2 separate regions of the Homo sapiens genome follow, and region 2 is linked to region 1. The links are contacts of gene promoters, found by promoter capture Hi-C in blood cells and fetal thymus (Javierre and others, 2016). All regions are on one chromosome and are shown on one strand. Each heading gives the region's core, a stretch centred on a gene start or on the middle of the fragment in contact. The rest is flanking DNA. Distances are from core to core; before and after follow the strand shown.

What was found. The method cuts DNA at HindIII sites, captures the fragments that hold promoters and counts their contacts. A CHiCAGO score of 5 or more calls a contact.
Region 2: a contact is called between a fragment that was not itself captured here and the fragment with the promoter of FBXL22 in region 1, in 2 of 17 cell types (fetal thymus and naive B cells). The highest score is 5.2, in fetal thymus.

Annotation. Positions count from the first base shown.
Region 1 is chr15:63,594,627-63,598,946 of GRCh38, forward strand. FBXL22 (F-box and leucine rich repeat protein 22) reads left to right here and starts at 2,761. Exons shown (of 2, transcript NM_001367807.1): 1 at 2,761-3,119. The coding sequence starts at 2,767. USP3-AS1 (USP3 antisense RNA 1) reads right to left here. Exons shown (of 3, transcript NR_034080.1): 2 at 69-160. It overlaps USP3 (ubiquitin specific peptidase 3), which reads left to right. Exons shown (of 15, transcript NM_006537.4): 15 at 1-7. RefSeq lists an enhancer at 80-129. The HindIII fragment of the contact is 9,685 bases long and covers 1-4,320 here.
Region 2 is chr15:64,129,192-64,136,907 of GRCh38, forward strand. SNX1 (sorting nexin 1) reads left to right here. Exons shown (of 15, transcript NM_003099.5): 9 at 725-838; 10 at 1,037-1,130; 11 at 2,496-2,701; 12 at 5,473-5,616; 13 at 7,139-7,219; 14 at 7,670-7,716. Among named protein-coding and RNA genes, the nearest start is that of SNX22, 19 kb to the right of the region's middle. The HindIII fragment of the contact is 1,070 bases long and covers 2,705-3,774 here.

The DNA.
Region 1 (4,320 bases), core at 1,511-4,010:
CTCTTTCCTTTTGACTTATTTCTGAACACCTTTTTTCAGTAGAGCCACATAAATGATGATGTACTTACTCAACTCGTGGGCCTCCTCAGTCAACAGGTAGCAAGCTCTTACAGAATCCCCACGATTTGGAGCTGCAGTACCTGGGCCAGGATGAAGTGACCTGTATGGGCAAAGTGATGGCCTGGAGATGAGTGCCTGCAGTCAGGTGCCTGAGGTCCCACTCGGCCTTGCCCAGTGAAATCACCCTCAGTCTCTTGTGACTATTGATCTTATAAAAATGAGGCCCCTTCCCTTCCCCTTTAGAGCTAGACTCTACCCTGAGGCACTAGTTTTGGGGCTCTGAGCAAAGGATACTGGTCATCTTTTAAGGTAAAACAGGCAAATAAGTGCTTTTAAATAAACATCCTGTTTACAGTAAGTTCCTATAGACTACTTCCCTGCCCCCATGCCTCCTGCAGACAGAACCCTGTTTCCACAGTCATCCTTTGCCTGTTCTTGTCAGTCTTCTAAAATTGAAGACACAGGTGCCTGCAGCTCAAATTGTTATGCATCCTTGTTCCGTAGGGCACATTCTTTTGGCAGCTGTGCTGGTCAGAGGCTGCGTGGTTGCTGTCACTGCTGCCAAACAGCATAGCTCTGGACAAGCCCAAAGGGGCAGAGCTTCGTCATCTCCTGGCTGTGCCTCAGACCCTCTGCAGCATGCAGGAGCACATTCCCCCTGGCCCTGGTAGTCTAGGATGCTTCCTGCAGCCTACCTGGAGGAACAGCAGAGGGGCAATGCTCTAAATGTTCTCCCTGCCAATCTTTTGCCATTCCAGCTGGGCTGCAGTAGTGCAACTTGGAAGCCATGCTGAAGCACAGTGACACTTACTCAGTGGAAGGCACAAGTACCACTCTGGCCTTGCAAGAAGTGGAAAGAACCACCTATTCCTAAGGGTCAAACCCTCTGAAAAGCATTGGTTTGAGGAGGATTGGGGAGGGAAAGTGGAGATAATGTGGCTTTCTAATAACACCACCTGTGGTTTTGCAGCATCCATTTTAAGTGGAGAAGTACACCTAGACAGAGCCTAAATTAGGGTGTCAGCTATAATTCAGAACTACATTGATGAGCTTGAAATAGCAGCAGTATCTTGCTCCCCTTCCTTGGGAAATGCTTCCTTTCGACCTCCTTGGTTTGTTTTTAAGAGAACCCCCTACTGTACTTCATCTTGGCATGGTGGAGTAATGGAGGCACAGGGGCACCAGCTGAGGCTGGCTTCTCAGGAAAGCCACTGACAATGGCTACTTCCTTCTTTGCTTGACTGCCTTCTGCTTTAAAGGCAAAGCTGCACCAGCCCTGACCAAACCTTAGTTCCAGAAGTGGGTTCAGCATAGGCTGCTTCATTTGTGTCTATGGGAAAACACAAGGATTCCCATTCCCTCTTATTCCAAATGGGAGAACAAACAGAAGTAACCACTGAGGTGGTGGTCCCTGGGCTGGCAGAGGAAAAACCATTCTCTTCTCACTATTGCCTAGGCAGAACGTGGCCTATACAGCTGCACCATATCAGCATCCCCCAAGCAAACCAAAAAACAACGACTGGGATTCAAAGCAGGAGAGTTAAGGTTGGGTCCTGGGTTTGGGAGTGAAGCAGCATGAGGAAACGGGTCTGCCATATCGTGAAGCCTCGGGTACTCAGGAAGGGGGAGCTTCACGGATAGTACCTCCAGGCACCTTGCCTAGAGTTGAGTCAGAGAGGGCAGGGGTGGCCCACTGGCTTCTCCAAGAGGGAACGGAGGGCACTCATAGAATGGATGGTGTGTGGTCAACTTAAAGGCAAAGATGGACTAAAATACTGAACTTAAAATTGTTTCAAGCAGTTTCACATTAAGAGCTACCTCATCCATCCTGACATTTTGGGAAGTACAGGTTATACATAGTACAAGGCCTTATCAGTGAGAAAATGTAAAGCCAAGTAAATTTAAATTTAAAACACAGAAAGTACTGCTTGACCAAAACTACAAAAACAACAACAACAACAACAAAGCACCAATAAAACATAAAACACAGACACACAACTTTGGAAAGCAGCTACTTCAGTAAAATTCTTTTATGAAACAACTCAGGGTAAAAATCTAGCTGTTGGGGAGGCCCAGGAAAATCCCCCTGCCTAGTGGCAGGCAGCAGGGCTTGAAGGCCAACCAGCCTAGCCTGGAGACAATTACTCTATGGCACAAAAATAACAGGAATGAGGCAGCAGCCATGGACTCTGCTCACAACTCACAACCGTCACCCTTAGCTCTCCACACGCAACAGGTTTCTTCCTAGTAAGGGTGGAGCAAAAGATTCACACTGATGTACTAGAAAATCAAAACAGTTAACATTTACAATTACACTCCTTCCCCCTAAGTACAGACTGCAAAGCCAGACAGAGCTGGCCTGGCCGCCACCACTGCCAATGAAAACGCCTTGGGAAAAGCCAAAAGTGCTCACTGCTAAACACCATTGTCAGCTAAAGGGAAAAAAAAAATCCCTTTTAAGGAAAGTAACTTCAATAGGCTCCTTTTCTGCCAGGACCTCCAATCCCTCTGAACATAAGCCGAACCACAGACTGCCGCACATGTGTCTGGGTCCTGGCTTTTCTTCCCTCACCCCTCCGCAGAGCTTCAGCACCAGTTGTTAGCCAAAAATAAACACCATTCCTCAACCATATATGTCCACCGGCCCAGAGTCGGGGAGGAGGAGAGGAGGCAGGTCAGCCGTCCCCCGGCTGCAGCTGCACTCACATGTGGCCACTGCTCACCATGCACATAACCCAGCTCAACCGGGAGTGCCTGCTGCACCTCTTCTCCTTCCTAGACAAGGACAGCAGGAAGAGCCTTGCCAGGACCTGCTCCCAGCTCCACGACGTGTTTGAGGACCCCGCACTCTGGTCCCTGCTGCACTTCCGTTCCCTCACTGAACTCCAGAAGGACAACTTCCTCCTGGGCCCGGCACTCCGCAGCCTCTCCATCTGCTGGCACTCCAGCCGCGTGCAGGTGTGCAGCATTGAGGACTGGCTCAAGAGTGCCTTCCAGAGAAGCATCTGCAGCCGGCACGAGAGCCTGGTCAATGATTTCCTCCTCCGGGTGTGCGACAGGTAGGCCACCTTGCCTCCTGAGCAGTGCTGGCCCCGCTAGCTCTGGCTTCCCTCTTGGGGGGCAGGGAAGAGCAAATTACGAGACCAAGATGGCTCCACCTTCGGGGCGCCTCAAACTAGGCCCAAGGCAGACATCCAGACCGCCCAAAGCAGGGTCCCCAGGAGACAATAAAATCATGAGGGAAACAATTGCTAATCCTCCTCTTAGCCTCACAGGTCCTGGGCTGCTTCATGCAAACACCAAGAAGTGGGGCCTCCGTACTGGTAGTCATTAAGTGCTGGGTGGGTCCAGCTGGGCCTGGATTTTCAAGGTCAGGCTCTGGGAAAAGGCTTCCAGATGCAGCAATCAGCTCACCCCTCCATTAGGCCTAGCAAGCAGCCCTCAAGGCCTGGGAAACTACGGAGGAAAGAGAGGGTGGGGAGCCAGAGGTGGAGAAGCCAGGGTGCTCAGGTCAGCTGAGCCAAACCAGACTCCAGGAGTAGATGAATTACTGATTTACACAGTATTCCTAAGGAGGGTGGCTTAGCCTAATTTTTCAAATTAGCAAACTGATGCTCCACGAGGTGGTATGATTTGCCCAGTCTAGGGTTGCCAGATTTTAGCAAATATATAGGCTGCCCAGTTAAATATGAATTTCAGATAAACAGTGAATAATATTTTAGTGTAAGTATGTCCCAAATACATCTTGTGTTTATCTGCTAACCCCCACCCCAGACACAGACATAGACACTGAACCACCAGGCCAGGCTCCCTCCATGGTCCCAGCCTCATGGGCAGAGCGGCCCAGGCAAGAACACAGAGCTATTCAACCAGCCTCTCACTGAGCTTCTGCCAGTCCCGTGCTGCCTTTGAGGAAAAACACCCCCTTGATCATATAACAAACTGGCCCTGGCTGTTCATGGAAAACTAGACTCAGCCAGTTTACTGCCACCCAAGTTCATAGCTGCTATTTGCTGGCAGCACGACAGGAGTGGAAGGAAACAGCGTAGTGACCCCACCTTTCTTTTGAGCTGGTAGGAAGAAAACAGAAGATGGACTTGGGGTTGGGCCCCGACTGGACAAGGCTATTTTGATGGGCTTAACAAGGCCCAGGAATTAGACTAGAGTGACATGGGTGGGGGTTGGGGGGAGGCGAATGGCACAACATGTCCTGAAGTTGTTCCATTCTTACTGTAAGAGAACCGAGCTTAATGCCCCAAA
Region 2 (7,716 bases), core at 1,990-4,489, 540 kb after region 1:
AGCTGAGATCGTGCCACTGCACTCCAGCCTGGGCGACAAGAGCAAGACTCCGTCTCAAAAAAAAAAAAAAGAACTACTGCCATAGAGTCCTGAACACTAAAATCTGACTTTTTAGCATAGTGTGCTGTATATGCTATAGATTTTTCAGCGTCCTTTCCATGCCCTAGGAGAGTACTGGGGAGACTGAACAGCAATCAGATTGTTTCTGAATATTTGGCATGCTTGACTACTAGGTTATCCCTGAAAGTAGCCTTGATCTGAATCAATAATTTTCTTGTCCTCGGATATTTGTTCACTGAAGAAAATTCGAACACAGCACGATTTCAGTGTCTTAAGACTTTTAAGTCTGGTTTTGTACAAAGTGTGCTAATCCAAGGGAACTTTTGACTTTTAACAAGAGTATGCTTGGTACTTAAGCAGTTCATGCCTGGGTAGGCAGACAATCTCAATTTGAGGTCACCTGGCCACGTAACACCCCAGTCTACTTTTTTTCTGTATAAAATATCAAAAGCTGAAAATGTTGCTGATTCTTTTTAACATGGTTCTTTGATTTTTCTGTATGGACATGTTAGTTGTGGATTCCTCAGACTGCCTTTGAAAACAATTTACAGTTCAAATAATTTGTCTGGCAAGTTTTGGCATGCCATCTGATGGATACTAATTCTTCTGAACCTAAAATAGGGGCAGCAGATAACTTGCCATCCCTGCCTTCTTGGTCTTGTAGCTGCCACGTGCCGTGGGTACCCAGACATTGAGTGGTGCTGGTCTCCTCAAGATGTTCAACAAAGCCACAGATGCCGTCAGCAAAATGACCATCAAGATGAATGAATCAGACATTGTGAGTAGCCCTGTGCCTCTTACCTCCACCTACACCTCAGGCTTATGGGTCAGAACCCCTAAGGAGTCCTGAAATTTCTGAGATTAGAAACTTTTTTATAAGATTTTTCAGTCCCTTTTTGAGAAACAACTGCTAAAGAAAGACTGTACTGCACCCATAAAAGTAATCTCATTAAAGTTCTGGGCTTTTGTGTTTCAGTGGTTTGAGGAGAAGCTCCAGGAGGTAGAGTGTGAGGAGCAGCGCTTACGGAAACTGCATGCTGTTGTAGAAACTCTAGTCAACCATAGGAAAGGTAACAAGCTCTGAAATGCACTTGGAGCTAGGGGAAATTGTTGTCTCTAGTGAACTGGAGATGCGAGGGCATGCTGTTCCAATCCTCTCAGCCATCCAAGTTGAAATTCTCAGCCCACCTGGTCCTTGATGTTCTGATAAAAAAAAGGTATGCCCTGTGTCTCCTGGCAGAAAACATGATTCAACCACTGTGGGCATTGTGCTTTCTACCTGGGAGGGGTGCAGGGAAGCCATCCCAGATACAGCATGACCTGGGATATGGGCTTCTGTTGATTTTGACTTGATGGCTTACATCCAAAATGATGTCATACATGCTTGAGCTACATGGTCAAACCAGCAATGCGTAAATGCAAGGAAACCACCTGTCTCCTAATCCTTCTGCATCTCTCTTTAGTGAAATTTGCTTAAGAGCTTGTGAAATTTTCCCAGTTTGAATCTTTTCCCTCTTTGCCTTAAACATGCTGATAATTAGAAATTGAAACAGACAGAAGACCCATAGCATGAGGCCAGGGTAAGTAAGGGTTGGCAAAGTATAATCTGGCCCATGGGCCAAATCTGACCCTGGTTCCTATTGCCATGAGCTACAAATTTAGGTTTTTACATTTTTAAAGGAATGAATGAGGGGAGAAAAGAATCTGTAGCAGACTATGTGTAGCCTTCAAAATCTAAAAAATTTATTATTAGCCGGTCGCGGTGGCTCACGCCTGTAATCCCAGCAATTTGGGAGGCCGAGGCAGGTGGGTCACGAGGTCAGGAGTTCAAGGCCAGCCTGGCCAAGATGGTGAAACCCTGTCTCTGCTAAAAATAGAAAAAATTAGCCAGGTGTGGTGGTGGGCATCTGTAATCCCATCTGCTTGGGAGGCTGAGGCAGAGAATTGCTTGAACCCGGGAGGCGGAGGTTACAGTGAGCTGAGATGGCGCCACTGCACTCCTTTACACAAAGTTTGCCCTACTCTAGAACGTGCAAGACTATACGATGTGCACATGTATTCACTCTTCTCTCTTGTACAGAGAGGCTACCACTCATGAGCTTCAACATAAATATAAGAATAGTTTCTTTGGCCTGTTTGTTATTTAACAACTGGGCTTTGGTTCTCCAGGGATATTGGAGCTGCTTCCTTCAGGTAGGCCTAACCCAGTGAAACTCAGGACAGCTGGTGCCTCTCCCTCCTGCTCCTGTGACCAGGCCACATTCTCTTTACTCTCTGAATACAGTTAACTGTGGTGTAAGTGACTGGGTTGCAGAGCCCTCAGTTCCCAGATATGCAGTGGGCGGCATTGCTAAGACATGCCATGCAGTGTCAGCTGATTTGTCCCTTTTCCTTGTGAGATCAGAGAGGCCTCTGCTGTCTTTTCCTCCTTCCAGAGCTAGCGCTGAACACAGCCCAGTTTGCAAAGAGTCTAGCCATGCTTGGGAGCTCTGAGGACAACACGGCATTGTCACGGGCACTCTCCCAGCTGGCTGAGGTGGAAGAAAAAATTGAGCAGCTCCACCAGGAACAGGCCAACAATGACTTCTTCCTCCTTGCTGAGCTCCTGAGTGACTACATTCGCCTCCTGGCCATAGTCCGCGTAAGCTTCTGTTTCCTTTTCTCCTCCTTCCCTTGATTTGATTTGTTTTTCCTTTGCTGGTCCCCTTCCCAAGACAGTTTCATCCCATTATAGCTTGTAAATAGGTGTCACTTTTTCTACTTTTAAGAGGAAAGGTATCCTGTAAACCAAGCAATCTATTCACCTGTTAGCTAGTTATCACTGAATCATTTTGAGCCCCACAGCCAAGATTCCTAGATGGCATTTGGAGAAAAGACCACTCTTGAATTTCCGAATAGGTTGCCCTTTATTGTTGAGGCCAGACAGTGTCTTCTGTGGTCCTTTCTTGAAGCAAGGTTGCTTACAGACCTACTCTCTTGGTCCCCTGGAGCAGTGACTTCCTCAGTCCTTTGGTCTTTGCCTCCTTAACAGTAACTGGTGGCTTTGCCCTGGTTAAGAGCTCTTGCTGACTTCCACTTGTCCTTCCAGTATGGGCAGTCAGGTAACTACATGGAACTGGCTTGGCATTGCATGGAGGAGTGCGGCCAGGGGACTGAGAGAGCTTGTCACCAGAGCCTTCCTGTGCTGTGTCACCCCACACTGGTAACATTCCAGCCTGCCCCTCGTCAAGCACCTCACTCTTTCTCCTGGTGATCAAGCAGTGTGGTTTCCCCGTGAGCACTCCTAGTGATTAAGGTTAAGGAATTTTGACAGTAGTATTAGCTGTCGCATGGCCTCCCTAAGACAGAGGAAAGAACCAAGAGGAAGCCTGGCACCTACACTCTAAGGGCCTAAGTCTGTCCTTGATTTCGCTTGGGATCAGGATGTGTGAGCCTCAGAGTTAGAACAGTGCCCCCCGCTCGTTCCCCGTCCCCAACATATCTCCCATTAGGGAGCTTGTGCGTTGTGTCAGGAGCTGAGCTGCTCCCAGGCTGTCACTTACCCCGTGGTGGAGATGCCTCATAGAGCCTGGAAGGTTGCTCATTGTCCTCTCCCATTGCTATTTGGTTTGCTGCTAACTCCAGAGTGATGAGTCTACCTGCTATGTAATTCTTAGAACTGGGCAGGCTACTTAGACTGGAGAGCCAGCTGCAGGAAGGGCACCCTCTGGGGGAAGCTTTCTATGAGGAGCATTGTTTGGGGTCTCTGGAGAGCACAGTTCTTGGATATGGCCCCCAGGCAGAGTGAGCTTGTACCACAGGGGTGAGGGCCTTGCTTAGAGCTACATGGGCTGGGGCTGGGGAAGTGTGCCTCATGGCACATAATTGCGAATGGTCTTTTCTCAGAGACCCTTCATCTGCCTACCTCATGCTTATGAGCCTGGTGGTGGGATTGGAGAGAAGAGCAAAGGTTTCTTTTCTGCTCTTCCCTGAGCATGGAGCCGGACCACTGTTAGGCCAGTGGGTTGGGCTTGAGTCTAACTAACTCAGATAAGAGGTTGCCCTTTACCTAATCTTTTGACATTGAGGTGTTAAGATGCTGCAGGGTAGCAGCAGTGACAATCCTGGGGCAGGTGAATTTGGTGGCATTGCATTCCCTAAGGTTCAAGTTTTGGCAAAAGCCTGTGCTGAGGAGGCATAGACAATATGCAGGGAAGGTTGGGGCGTGGTGGCTCACGCCTGTAATCCCAGCACTTTGGGAGGCTGAGGCAGATGGATCACCTGAGGTCAGGAGTTCGAGACCAGCCTGGCCAGTGTGGCGAAACCCCATCTCTACTAAAAATACAAAAATTATCTGGGCGTGGTGGTGTGTGCCTATAATCCCAGCTACTCAGGAGGCTGAGGCAGGAGAATCGCTTGAAACCAGGAGGTGGAGGTTGCAGTGCAGTGAGCCAAGATCGCGCCATTGCACTCCAGCCTGAGTGACAAGAGTGAAACTCCGTCTAAAAAGAAAATATTCGGGGAACTTTTGCAGGGCAGTGAGGGAGCCGCTGGAACCCGGCTGGGCGGCTGGCCCCAGGCACAGATCCTTGATCCAGGCTGCTGCTTGGGGCCTATTAAGCAAGTCCGGGTGGGCGTGGTTAGTCAGGCCAGCAGCTTCCTTCCCTGGAAATGCTGATTGTGGTCAAGGAACTGGAAACAAGGAAAACTAGCAAATAGATTTTGGGGAGCTTCTTGGAGGCCTTGGTAGCCTAGAGCAGGTGAGTGTGTGGTTGGGAAAAAGCAATGTGGCCCTATGGTGGTTTTAGGTGTTGATTTAAAGATTTGTTAAGCTAACCTTGTGCATTATTTGGGTGTCAGTTTAAAGGCTGGGTCCTTAGGGTGGACTTCCCTGACATATTTCCCAGGCTAAGCTAGGCCTCTGGTTTCATGTTATAGTACCCTGCTGCTTTCCCAGTAGTCTGCATACTTGTATCTATTTGTAATTGTAAATGTAATGTTGGCCTTTTCCATTAGATGACAAGTTCCATGAAAATGGGACCATGAGTTTCATCCACTGTATTCTTAGCTCCTGGCACATGGCAGGCACTCAGGGAAAGTATGTAGCCTTATGAACTGACTGATCTGAGGGAGGCACTTCTGTAAGCCATAGTATTGGTCACTGGCATGAGGCCACCTACTGGATCCCTGCCATCCAGCCCTGGGAGTAGCATGAAGCAGCATGGCACTGGCCTTCTGGAAGCTTGGAGAGGAGTCTTACCCAAGCTTTGCTCCTAGACATTAAACTTCCCAGCTGGGCACTAACATGTGGCTGCAGAACCTGCCCTTGCTCAGTCTGTCCCTGGTGCAGCTGCTGGGAGAGCCTGCCTCGAGGCAGAGCCAGCAGAGCTCTTGAAGAGCTGGTTGTGCTCCTCCTCAACCCCACCCCCACAGGCTGCCTTCGACCAGCGCATGAAGACATGGCAGCGCTGGCAGGATGCCCAAGCCACACTGCAGAAGAAGCGGGAGGCCGAGGCTCGGCTGCTGTGGGCCAACAAGCCTGATAAGCTGCAGCAGGCCAAGGACGAGATCCTCGAGGTGAGTCCACTGAGGCAGCCCAGCCAGGGGTGTTCTGCTGGTTCCAAATGAACCCAGGGCCCATCCCACCCAGAGGTTTGGAACCCCACAGGGGGAAGAGCGCTGATTGAGTCTAAAGGGCCGTGGCTGCTGAGGAAGCCTCTGAGAATGACTCCAGGCCTTCCTGAGGCCTAGTCCCCCTGTTCTTTTTCTACTCTACGCAGACTTGTCAAATCAGAATCTCTGGCCCGGCATGGTGGCTCGCGCCTGTAATCCTAGCACTTTGGGAGGCCAAGGTGGGCGGATCACTTGAGGTCAGAGGTTTTTTTTGTTTGTTTTTGTTTTTGTTTTAGATGGAGTCTCGCTCTGTCAACAGGCTGGAGTGCAGTGGCGCGATCTCAGCTCACTGCAAGCTCTGCCTCCTGGGTTCACGCCATTCTCCTGCCTCAGCCTCCCAAGTAGCTGGGACTACAGGCTCCTGCCACCACACCTGGCTAATTTTTTGTACTACCGTGTTAGTAGCCAAGATGGTCTCGATCTCCTGACCTTGTGATCCACCTGCCTCGGCCTCCCAAAGTGCTGGGATTACAGGCGTGAGCCACCGCGCCCGGCCGAGGTCAGGAGTTTTAGACCAGCCTGGCCAACATGGTAAAACCCCATCTCTACTAAAAATACAAAAAATTAGCCAGGGCTGGGCACGGTGGCTCACGCCTGTAATACCAGCACTTTGGGAGGCCAAGGTGAGTGGATCACGAGGTCAAGAGATTGAGACCATCTTGGCCAACATGGTGAAACCCCGTCTCTACTAAAAAAAATACAAAAATTAGCTGGGCGTGGTAGCACCCACTTATAGTCTCAGATACTCAGGAGGCTGAGGCAGGAGAATCGCTTGAACCTGGGAGGCGAAGGTTGCAGTGAGCTGAGATCACGCCACTGCACTCCAGCCTGGCAACAGAGCAAGACTCTGTCTCAAAAAAAAAAAAAAAAAAATTAGACGTGATGGCACACGCCTGTAGTCCTAGCTACTCAGGAGGCTGAGGCACGAGAACCGCTTGAACCTGAGAGGCAGAGGTTGCAGTGAGCCAAGATCGCACCACTGTACTCCGGCCTGGATGACAGAGCGAGACTCCATCTCAAAAAAAAAAATCTTGGCAGGAGGGGTCCTGGCTGGGTCTTTGAAAAGCTACCTAGCTGATTCAGATATGCCTTCTCGTGAGAACTAAATTAAGTTTTCCAGGCCTTTCAGCCCTGCTGGTGAGTACCTAAACTGGAGGCTGCTGGCATGTCAGAGCCTTCTTGAAGGACCACACTTGGTCCCAGATGCCTGAAACACAGGCATCTCTTTTCCAGTCAGCCCCTAAAGTAGCCTTCTGCCGGACTCTGACTTACGTGTGGAATCCTCTGTGACACCTCATCTTACCCACAGGGACAGACAGACATAATGATCAATTGAGCCCTCATATGTAAAATCGCTGTCCAAATGTGAAGGCTTAATAATGGTGCCATAATATGAGGTGATCCTTTCTTTCCTCTTTCTTCCCAGTGGGAGTCTCGGGTGACTCAATATGAAAGGGACTTCGAGAGGATTTCAACAGTGGTCCGAAAAGAAGTGATACGGTTTGAGGTGAGATAGAAAATCCTACTTCTCACTTAGCATGCAGTGCTTGTTTTGGGAGTACTCTTGGTGTTGTCCAACTCTGTTGGGTAAAGAGAGAGGTGCCAGTAACTTGGCAGTTCTCGTGAGCAGGCGTGGCCTTCTTTGGGGGGGTGTGTGCTTGATCCTAGGAACAGTGGCAATCTTACACTTGTGGCTGGACCACAGCAGTTAAACACAAATCTTGCAGCTGCCATATACCCTCGGTCCCCTGTCGTTTCTCCTCCACTTCCCATCTCCTGCCCTCCAACAAAGCCTTTCAAGGCCTTGGCAGACCCTCTTTGGCTGGAAATTACAGCTGTTCCACCTGCTGCCTCTACTTTCTGAGACTGTGTTTGGCCTTGGTCAGCAATAAACACCACCATCCCATCGAAAGGGAAAGCAAAAACTGGATGGTCAGTGTAGAATCTTGTCTCCTAGAAAGAGAAATCCAAGGACTTCAAGAACCACGTGATCAAGTACCTTGA